Regions from separate parts of the Homo sapiens genome. Here regions 1 and 2 are each linked to region 3. The links are contacts of gene promoters, found by promoter capture Hi-C in blood cells and fetal thymus (Javierre and others, 2016). All regions are on one chromosome and are shown on one strand. Each heading gives the region's core, a stretch centred on a gene start or on the middle of the fragment in contact. The rest is flanking DNA. Distances are from core to core; before and after follow the strand shown. Region 1 overlaps GLYR1 (glyoxylate reductase 1 homolog). Region 2 overlaps GLYR1 (glyoxylate reductase 1 homolog). Region 3 holds the start of ANKS3 (ankyrin repeat and sterile alpha motif domain containing 3).

Region 1 (3,419 bases), core at 529-3,028, 100 kb after region 3:
GGTTAAGGATACAGAAACCCAGCTATCTCACAAGCTTCAGGTTGTTTTCTTCATAGAAAGCTAGAGAATATTCACTAACAGCAAGTGTTAACCTTTGCACATAAAAATAATGTTACTAACCCTCCACCAGCTACCTGGACTTTGAGTGTGCTGCTGGTAGTTGTGATAATGGGGTCTGTGCAAAAACACAGACCTGGGATCATCGGCCTGCAGATGTCAGGCAGCGAACCACTATCAGGCATGCCACCATGGCTAAGTGAGATGATGAATGGAGATACAGAAGCTGGTCTCCCTGGCACAGCTCCAACTAGAGGAGTTAGGCAAATTCCTTTTTTTTTTTTTTTTTTTTTTGAGACGGAGTTTCACTCTTGTTGCCCAGGCTGGAGTGCAATGGGGCGATGTTGGCTCACGGCAACCTCGCCTCCTAGGTTCAAGTGATTCTCCTGCCTCAGCCTCCCAAGTGCTGGGATTACAGGCGTGAGCCACCACACCTGGCCTTTTTTTTTTCCTTTTTGAGACAGAGTCTCATTTTGTCACCTAGGATGAAGTGCAGTGGCACGATCTTAGCTAACTGCGACCTCCGCCTCCACCTCCCAGGTTCAAGCAATTCTGCCTCTATCTCCCGAGTTGCTGGGACTACAGGTATGCACCACCACACCCAGCTAATTTTTATGTTTCTAGTAGAGACGGGGTTTCCCTGTGTTGGCCAGGCTGGTCTTGAACTTCTGGCCTCCAGTGATCCACCTGCCTTGGCCTCCCAAAGTGCTGGGATTACAGGTGTGAGCCAGCAAACTCCTTTCCAGTGACCAACTCATCTTAAAGTTTGAAATTCAACATGAGAGCGCCAATGAGTCCAATCTGCTGGGAGGAAAAGTGGAAGGAGATTTCGACCCCAGATTTTCTGGCAAGAATATCCCTGAACTGACTCCGTTCCCTCTCCTTACAGGGATGCTAATGACAGGCCAGAGCAATCAGATGCAAAGTCAGACCCAGCCCCAAAAGCCAGTGAAGCTACCATACTAACCCGTGGGTCTGAGATGACACAACCAGTATCAAGGATGAAGCTTAAGGAGTCGTGACCAGCCAGTTCTTCCTAGGAGCTTCTGGTCAGAAGCTGAGAACCACACAAGTTCCCAATATAGGACCAAAAAGGTGATTTTTATGGAACCCCTTGAGATGGGACAACAGACTCCGAGACTTGCTAATCCCACCCACGCCATCCTGCTACCTCCATCCCTGCCTCCCACTACCCAGCCTCACAGGAACCCGATTCTGAGGGAACAGAAAGGTGAGGATGTCTGTGAAGTGCCAAGGAATCAACCCCATTTTTTGTTGAAGCATCTTACAAGGTTTACTGATTTCTGCTAGAAGGAACTGTACAGTCAAAATTCCACTCACTTTAAAGCATTTGAGATACTAAAATTTTCCTCTTTACAACCATCTTCGAAACATTAAAATGGCTAAATGAACTGACAGTATGAATAGGATGGTAAATCCAAGAAATGTTAATCTATTTAAGGAATCAACTTATTGCTGGAGAAGCATCCTGTTACATCAAAAAACAGCCATAAAAAACCAGCTTGGCTGGGCACGGTGGCTCACACCTGTAATCCTAGCACTTTGGGAGGCCGAGGCAGGCAGATCACCTGAGGTTAGGAGTTTGAGACCAGCCTGGCCAACATGGTGAAATCTCGTCTCTACTGAAAATATAAAAATTAGCTGGGTGTAGTGGCACGCAGCTGTAATCCCAGCTACTCGGAAGGCTGAGACAGGAGAAACACTTGAACCCAGGAGGCGGAGGTTGCAGTGAGCCAGTATTGTGCCACTGCACTCCAGCCTGGGCAACAGAGTGAGACTCCACCTCAAAAACAGTAACAACAAAAAAACCCAGCTTACCAGAGCTCTATGGGGATTACCTCTTGAAAGCAAACCAAACTTAAATCACTTTGGCTATCTGAATACAATTTTTTCTCTAAAGGTTACACTTCTTTCATCTTTTTTAAATTTATTTTTTATAGAGATGGGGTTCACCATGTTGCCCAGGTTGGTCTCGAACTCCTGAACTCAAGTAATCTGCCCACTTCAGCCACCCAAAGTGCTGGGATTACAGGTATGAGCCACTGCAACTGGCCTACCTCTGTCTTTTTAATGAGAATATGCTTTTCAGTTGGCGCCTCAACAATGCACCACTGTCTAATTCACGGAGGCACATCAGCCGGGCCTGGCACACCACTGGTCCTCAATAAATAATCACTGGGTAAATGATTCCTTCCCAGATGTTCAGGAGGATGTACTGCTCACCAGTGAGTTAAAAGGTGCTACAATGCTCCAGTGCGTAAGGCTTTAGTGTTTTTGTTGTTGCTACTGTTGGTTTTTTAAGTGACTGTTTCTTTCCTTGATAGAAGCTGTAACTTTTGATTTTCCTATCATCCTCCCAAGACTTAGATGGAGCTATATCTTTCAGCCCAATTGTGGCTGGGAAGTCAGAAAAATCAAGCTTATTCAAGCTGTATTTAAAGTAGGAGACTTTGCTTTTTATGTACAGTAGAATGAATGACACATTGTGATAGTAAATAGCTGAAAACAGGCAAGGTCATTACAGAGAAGGAAAGCGGATGTCTCGTAAGATATCTGGCTACGTGGAGATGAGCAAGATAAAAAGCAATGCATGTTATGTGCTACCACTCGTGCAAAGACAAGGAAAATGGACTGACCACGCACTGATATCTCTGGAGGGACACATCATCAGAAACTGGTCTAACTGGGTGGCTGTGGGATGGGGATGAATGCAACTGTTTCAATGTTGACAAGTTTTTGTTTTTGAATGGTGAACACATATTATATTGGAAAAAAAAAAAAAAAACAAAACAAATCAATACTAAAGGCCTCTGCCCTAGAACACAGGCTATGCCGACTGCCCAGAGGGTTTCCTCCATGACTTCCTGGTTTGCAGGTTTGCTCTGGTGGGTTGCTGCTGCCTGGCTGCTGGCATAACTGCACCTGTAACACAGCCAATTTACCCTGGTGACCTGACACTCTTCCTATAAAAAGTCTCTTCATCTATGAATACAGAACCGCCACTAAGGCACTCTCAGATTACTCCAATCAAAATGAATTAAAATCTGGTATTTTCAAAAACTTGCACACTTCTGATTTGCTTTCCTCTTAAATGAAAATCATACATGTAGGGCCCGGTGCGGTGGCTCATGCCTGAATCCCAGCACCTTGGGAGACCGAGGCAGGTGGATTGAGGCCAGGAATTCGACACCAGCCTGGCCAACATGGCGAAACCCCATCTCTACCAGAAAACACAAAAATTAGCCAGTTGTGGTAGCACACGTCTGTAATCCCAGCTACTTAGGAGGCTGCGGCAGGAACTGCTTGAACCCGGGAGGTGGAGGTTGTAGTGAGTGCAGATC
Region 2 (3,232 bases), core at 469-2,968, 84 kb after region 3:
AACCTCTGCCTCCCACATTCAAGTTATTCTCCTGCCTCAGCCTCCTGAGTAACTGAGACTACAGGTGAACGCCACCATACCCAGCTAATTTTTGTATTTTCTATTTTTTTTTTTTGAGACGGAGTCTTGCTCTGTCGCCCAGGCTGGAGTGCAGTGGCGCGATCTCGGCTCACTGCAAGCTCTGCCTCCCGGGTTCATGCCATTCTCCTGCCTCAGCCTCTGGAGCAGCTGGGACTACAGGTGCCCGCCACCACGCCCGGCTAATTTTTTGTATTTTAAGTAGAGACGGGGTTTCACCGTGTTAGCCAGGATGGTCTCGATCTCCTGACCTCATGATCCGCCCGCCTCAGCCTCCCAAAGTGCTGGGATTACAGGAGTGAGCCACCGCGCCAGGCAAATGTTTAGGTTTTATAATAACATCCTAAGTTTAGGCATCTACATCTCTACCTGCCTGGACTAAAAGCTTGGCTTCTATTCTATTGCACGCAGAACGCTGAGACAACAGGGGGAGATGTCCACTCTTAGGGTTACCCCAGACTCCACCGATCCAACAGGCACCACCCCTGAATGCTTACTTTCTCTGCAGTGCGGTTCCAGACAGTCACTGTGTGACCCATTTTTAGCAAGTTGGAGACGATTCCACTTCCCATGAGACCAAGGCCCAAAAATCCTATCCTGAAACAGAGAGAGACTGATGAGTTCAGGGTGGAAAGGGAGGGTCACGGTGATGATGATTCCATGCAGCACAAGGCTCGCTCCCTTATACAGCTTGGGGTAGGGGAATTCAGACTGCCAGAAACAGCAGTGGCCAATCTACCTGCAGAGCCAGGGGCGTCATGCACATGGGTCTTCTCTTATGCCATGGTCTAAAGCTGTCCCAGGATGTAAACAGGCATTTTGAAACCCCTGACTGTCACAGAAAAAAGTATGATGTGTATGGTTCAGGGCCAGTCTCCCAGGGCAAAGTCCCCTTGCTGCCCTTTTTTTTTTTTTTGAGACAGTCTTGCTCTGTTCCAGGCTGGAGTGCAATGGCGCGAGCTCAGCTCACTGCAACCTCTGCATCCTGGGTTCAAGCGATTCTCCTGCCTCAGCTTTCTGAGTAGCTGGGATTACAGGCGCACGCCACCATGCCCAGCTAATTTTTGTATTTTTAGTAGAGACAGGGTTTCACCATGTTGGCCAGGCTGGTCTCAAACTCCTGACCTCGTGATCTGCCCACCTCGGCCTCCCAAAGTGCTCGGATTACAGGCGTGAGCCACCATGCCCGGCCTCACACTTTACTTATTTTTTGAGATAGTGTCTTGTTCTGTTGCCCAGGCTGCAGTGTAGTGGTGCAATCATGGCTCACTGCAGCCTCGACCTCCTGGGCTCAAGTAATCCTTCCCCCTCAGCCTCCTGGGTAGCTGAGACTACAGGCATCTGTCAGCACACCTAATTTTTTGTGGAGATGGGCTTTTGCCATGTTACCCAGGCTGGTCTTGGACTCCTGGGCTTAAGGGATCCGCCCACCTCAGCCTCCCAAAGTGCTGGGGTTGCAGGTGTGAACCACTGCACCCGGCTCTGGATACTACTTTAAAGCCCAACAGAATCCACCACAAGTCACTGAAGCACTGTGTTTAGAGCCAGGCAACTTCCTTGACTGCATGAACCAGGACGGCAATTTTCACCTCTCTTTCCCAACTTCAATTCTCTACCCACACCCTACCTTTCCCGTCTTCCCGTTATCAACAGAATGGGCCTTGCCTCTCCTCTCCAAAGCTAAGTCCTTCACCTGAGCTTGGAACCCAATCTTTCCCAGTCCACAAATCCTTCTCCCCATGCCTGCCTTCCCCCAAACCTCTCACTGTTCCCCCAGCCCTTCCTTCCACAGGTCCTTCCCAATCCTTGTGACAGAAGCACTCATTGGCCAGTCTCCTCCACACACATTCACATACTCCGCCTGCTCCTTCCTGCAACCCTGAGAGCTGGGGGCTGGATGCCACTGCTGCTATTTCAACATGCTTTTACGGATGACTTTTAGCTTGCCAAAGTGTCTTTTCTTGATTCTTGTACTTCTTCACCTCTCTTTGCAAGTGACAATGGTGCAAAAGAATGCCTTTCCTCATTTCTGATCATATCATGTTCTTGTTTTTATAGTTTTTAATTTTTATTTATTTATTTATTTAAAAAGAGAGATGGGGGGGTCTTGCTATGTTGGCTAGGCTGGTCTCGAACTTTTGGTATCAGGCAATCCTCTCACCTCAGCCTCCCAAAGTGTTAGGATTATGGGCGTGAGCCACTGCACCCAGCCTTTTTTCTTTTTTTAGTGACAGCATTATGCTGTCTCCCAGGCTGGAGTGCAGGGGGGTGATCATAGCTCACCGCAGCCTCAAACTCCTGGGCTCAAGTGATCCTTCCACCTCAGTCCACCTGAGCAGCTAGGACTATAGGTGCATGCCACCATGTCTGGCTAAGTTTTAAAATTTTTTTGTAGAGACGGGGTCTTGCTGTATTTCCTAGGCTGGTCATGAACTCCTGGCCTCAAGGGATCCTTCTGCTTTGGTCTCCCAAAGTGTGGGGATTACAAGGATGAGCTACTGCGCTTGGCCATGTTTTCAATTCAGAAATTCTCTGACTGCTGGATGTCCCCGGCAGCTCCTCCACTTTGACCCTGTCATTCTTTCCATAGTTTTGGTCTTCTGGAACCATCTCTACAAATGGACCCCTAATCTCAGCTGGAATATCAGCTGCTCACATTCTCCCTGTCCCAGCCTGTATTAAGTAATTTGAATCACATGTTGAAAATGGAACCCACCAACTTTCTCACCAAAATAGACCTCCTTGCTAACTGCTTCAAGTTGTGGCTTAAAAACAAGGAGGTACCTTTTTGTCACTCATTATTTGGGTAGTACAATATTCCCCCATGATTCTAAATCATGACAGGCGAATTCCCTTTCCTTTCTTGGTGTTCTAGGAAGTCCAGTAGACCTGGGATAAAGCTTCTGGATTTTTTTGAGACACAGTCTCGTTCTGTTGCCCAGGCTGGAGTGCAGTGGTGCGATCTTGGCTCACTGCAACCTCCACCTCCCGGGTTCAAGCGATTCTCCCACCTCAGCCTCCCAAGTAGCTGGGATTAAAGGCACCCACCATCATGCCTGGCTAATTTTTGTAGAGACAGGGTTTCACCATGTTGGCCAGGCTGGTCTTGAACTCCTGACCTCAGGTAATCCGCCCACCTTGGCCTCCCAAAGTG
Region 3 (3,395 bases), core at 840-3,339:
GCTAGCAGAGCCCAAGATCGTGCAGTGCCCTTCCCTCACTTTGCAGGTGAGAATCCCACCCTAACAGCCCTGGCCAACGAAGCCTGGATAAGAAACCAAACGAGCTGAGGGTCAGTTCAGAGTCCCTTCCATACCTCCCTCAAGCCTTCACTGGGCATGTCTCTTCCACGCCAAAGGCCTCCTGCAGGGTGAGGCCGTGTTCTCTATTTACTGGAGACTTGCATATCTGACATCCCCAGAGGTCTGAAGGACAATGAGAACCAGACCAAGCGTGACGGACCACTTGAGGCCAGGAGTTCGAGACCACCCTGGCCAAAATGGTGAACTCCCATCTTTACTAAAATTACAAAAATTAGCTGGGTGTGGTGGTGGGCGCCTGTAGTCTCAGTACTCAGGAGGCTGAGGCAAGAGAATCGCTTGAGCCTGGGAGGCGATTGCAGTGAGCCGAGCTCAAGCCACTGCACTCCAGCCTGGGCAACAGAGCGAAATTCTGTCTCAAAAAAAAAAACAAAAAAAAAACACTAAAGTGAAAACTAAAATGTCCCATCCCGAGTGGTGTGGTGTAAAGTAGCATTAGAGATAAGACGTTTTAGTTTTCATTCAACTTTTTGGTTCTGTCCATTCTGAAAATGCTAAGTATCTGTTACCTTTACAGTGAATCCTAAAGAAAATGTGGTACTTAGACACAATGGAGTACTATTCAGCCATAAAAAAAGAATGAGATCCTATCATTTGCAAAAACATGGATGGAAGCGGAGATCGTTATGTTTAGTGAAATAAGCCAGGCACAGAAAGATAAATATTGCATGTTCTCAATTATTTGTGGTTATCTAAAAATCAAAACAACTGAACTCATGGACATAGAAAGTAGAAGGATGGTTACTTCTAGTGTAACCAAGGCTGGGAAGGGTAGTGGAGGGTGGGGATGCTTAATGGATACAAAAAAAACAGAATGAATAAGATCTAGTATTTGATCAAGCCACTGCACTCCAGCCTGGGCGACAAAGCGAGACTCCGTCTCAAAAAAAAAAAAAAAAAAAAAAAGATCTAGTATTTGACCGCACAACAGGGTGACTATAGTCAATATAATCTAATTGCACATTTTATTTATTTATTATTATTTTTTTTGAGACATAATCTCACTCTGTTACCCAGGCTAGAGTGCAGCGGCGTGATCTCGGCTCAATGCAACCTCCGCCTCCTGGGTTCAAGCGATTCTCCTGCCTCAGCTTCCCGAGTAGCTGAGATTACAGGTATGAGCCACCATGCCAGCCTAGTTTTCGTATGTTTAGTAGAGACGAAGTGTCCCCATGTTGGCCAGGCTGGTCTCAAATCCTTGACTTCAGGTGATCCGCCCGCCTTTGCCTCCCAAAGTGCTAGGATTACAGGCGTGAGTGAGCCACCGCGCCCGGCTGCACATTTAAAAATAATTCAAAGAGTATAATCATATTGTTTGTAACACAAAGGATAAATGCTTGAAGGGATGGAGACCCCCATTTTACATGTGATTATTACGAACTGCATGCCTGTATCAAAATCTCTCATATACGCCATAAATATATACACCTACTACGTACCCACAAAAATTAAAAAATTTTTAAAAATCTTAACAAATGTGATGCTGGTGGTAACTGTCACGCCCACAGAGGAGGTCTGTGAAAGCACCCAGGCACCCCCTCTCGCCCCGTGGAACCGCATCGCAAAGGTAGCTCACTGGCCCCGGGGCGGGTCCCTGGCCGACAAACCCGTAACTCACAGCAGTGACGCTTCCCGACGCCCCCCGGCCACATCCCCACAGGAACGCTACGGCGCACAGGGCATTACTGTGCCCCCACCACAACCACATAAAGAAAATGTGGGGGCTCGGTCCTCCAGTCACGCGGCGAGCAAGTGCAGCGCGGGACGCCCGAGCGCCGGGTCTAGGCGGGCTGCAGGTGCCGGCAAGTGCTGGGGCCGGGCCGCCGCGGAACCCACCTGTGCTGGGCCTCAGGCCTTGCGCCGCCCTCGGGCTGCCGTCGCCAACCCCCCCCAAACAGCTCGCCGCCACGCTCCCTCGCCGGGGCACCGCCCCCGGCACCCGCCCCGGAAGTAGTTGCGGGAGGGCGCGGAGCACGCCGGGAAGCTCGCGGGTCGGCACCGGGACAGCTCCCGGGCGCCGTGGAATGCACACGTCCCGCACCCGGACCTTCCGGTCAGCTTCCCGGCTCGCTGTCTGATGCCCGCGGTAGCCAATGAGCTAGTGGTGTTTGTCCTGCTCCGTCCCCGCCCTCCAGGGGAACCAATCCCATTGCAGGAGAGGCAGGACGCGCAAAGGCCCGAAAGAGGAGCTGGGCGGGGTGGGGGGAAGGCGGAGGCAGTCTAGTAATGTAAAGCTCCGCTGAGAGGGAGAGTGCTGAAGAAGGGGACAGCCTCTGTACCTGCGGCGCGGCCCGAGGGGCGGACGCGAGCGGAGTGACGCGCTGGAGGCTGTTTATAGCGCTGTCAGGACAGCGCGGGGAGTGGAGGCAGAGGCCTGAGGTGAGGGGCCTCGGGCCTGCTGCGCCTGCAGGGAGTTGAACAAAACGCGGGGAAATACGGGCTGGGGGTGGGTGAGAGGAGGAGCGATGGGCTTTCCACTTCCACAGCTTTAAAATTTAAAAGCTCGACCCGGGAGGCTGTTGGCGTCTGGTTGCCATAACAACCGGCAGCCTCGTGGCAGGCCGGCTGGGGGCGGGGCTCTGAGAACCGGGGCGGGGCTGTGGCGGGGCTAACAGGCTGCAGCTGAGAAACCCACCCCGAGACGGAGCCGGAAGGCCGTTATTCAGAGGCGGCTCCGAGCCTCCCCTTCGCCTTCTGGATGCTCTGAGCTCCTCAACTTGGCGTTCAGGGCCCTGCATTGTCTGGTCCGTTTTCACCGGAGAGTCCAGCAACTGACACTTTCTTCCCTTAAACCTGTTGGGCGGTTCATTCCTTTGAGCTACTGTACATGCTCTTCCTTCTGCCGGTAATGCCGTTCCCTCCCCTATTGTCTTGTCCGCCTGAAGGGTTTATCAGAGTCTCTGGAGGCCCTCTTCATCCCGACGATTCTGTTGCCCTAAGAAATACTGTGCCCTGAATTGCGGAACAGAGCTCTAGTTACAAAAAACACCCGCTGGCTGTGTGCACCAGATGCGTCCCCAACCCGCTGCTCCCAGTTCAGAGTGCACCAAGCACCTGCCCTATTCCCAGAAGTACAGAGGAAGCAAGCAGCCCCCAATTCACATCTCCTGCCGCTGCCCTGATTGGGGATGAACGGGCACTGACTGCAGGGCCAAAGCCACAGCGGCCTCTCGAGCTGCAGAGTTCTCCTGACACTGGCTCTAGAGGACCCTCACCCCCCAGCTCTCAAGCTCAAGCTCCCCAGCCCCCTGAATAAC

Evidence for each region. Contacts are between HindIII fragments. The CHiCAGO score rates a contact against its expected background, and 5 or more counts as called.
Region 1: a contact is called between a fragment that was not itself captured here and the fragment with the promoter of ANKS3 in region 3, in 2 of 17 cell types (megakaryocytes and M1 macrophages). The highest score is 5.6, in megakaryocytes.
Region 2: a fragment that was not itself captured here is called in contact with the fragment with the promoter of ANKS3 in region 3 in 1 of 17 cell types (M1 macrophages); the score reaches 5.4 in M1 macrophages.

Annotation. Positions count from the first base shown.
Region 1 is chr16:4,833,967-4,837,385 of GRCh38, forward strand. All of the region lies in intron 3 of GLYR1 (glyoxylate reductase 1 homolog), which reads right to left. Among named protein-coding and RNA genes, the nearest start is that of GLYR1, 12 kb to the right of the region's middle. The HindIII fragment of the contact is 1,433 bases long and covers 1,063-2,495 here.
Region 2 is chr16:4,817,023-4,820,254 of GRCh38, forward strand. GLYR1 (glyoxylate reductase 1 homolog) reads right to left here. Exons shown (of 16, transcript NM_032569.4): 10 at 576-675. Among named protein-coding and RNA genes, the nearest start is that of ROGDI, 16 kb to the left of the region's middle. The HindIII fragment of the contact is 2,515 bases long and covers 462-2,976 here.
Region 3 is chr16:4,732,182-4,735,576 of GRCh38, forward strand. It overlaps ANKS3 (ankyrin repeat and sterile alpha motif domain containing 3), which reads right to left and starts at 2,090. Exons shown (of 18, transcript NM_133450.4): 1 at 1,757-2,090. DNAAF8 (dynein axonemal assembly factor 8) reads left to right here and starts at 2,356. Exons shown (of 10, transcript NM_139170.3): 1 at 2,356-2,517. RefSeq lists silencers at 1,876-1,935, 1,986-2,215. The HindIII fragment of the contact is 25,292 bases long and covers 1-3,395 here.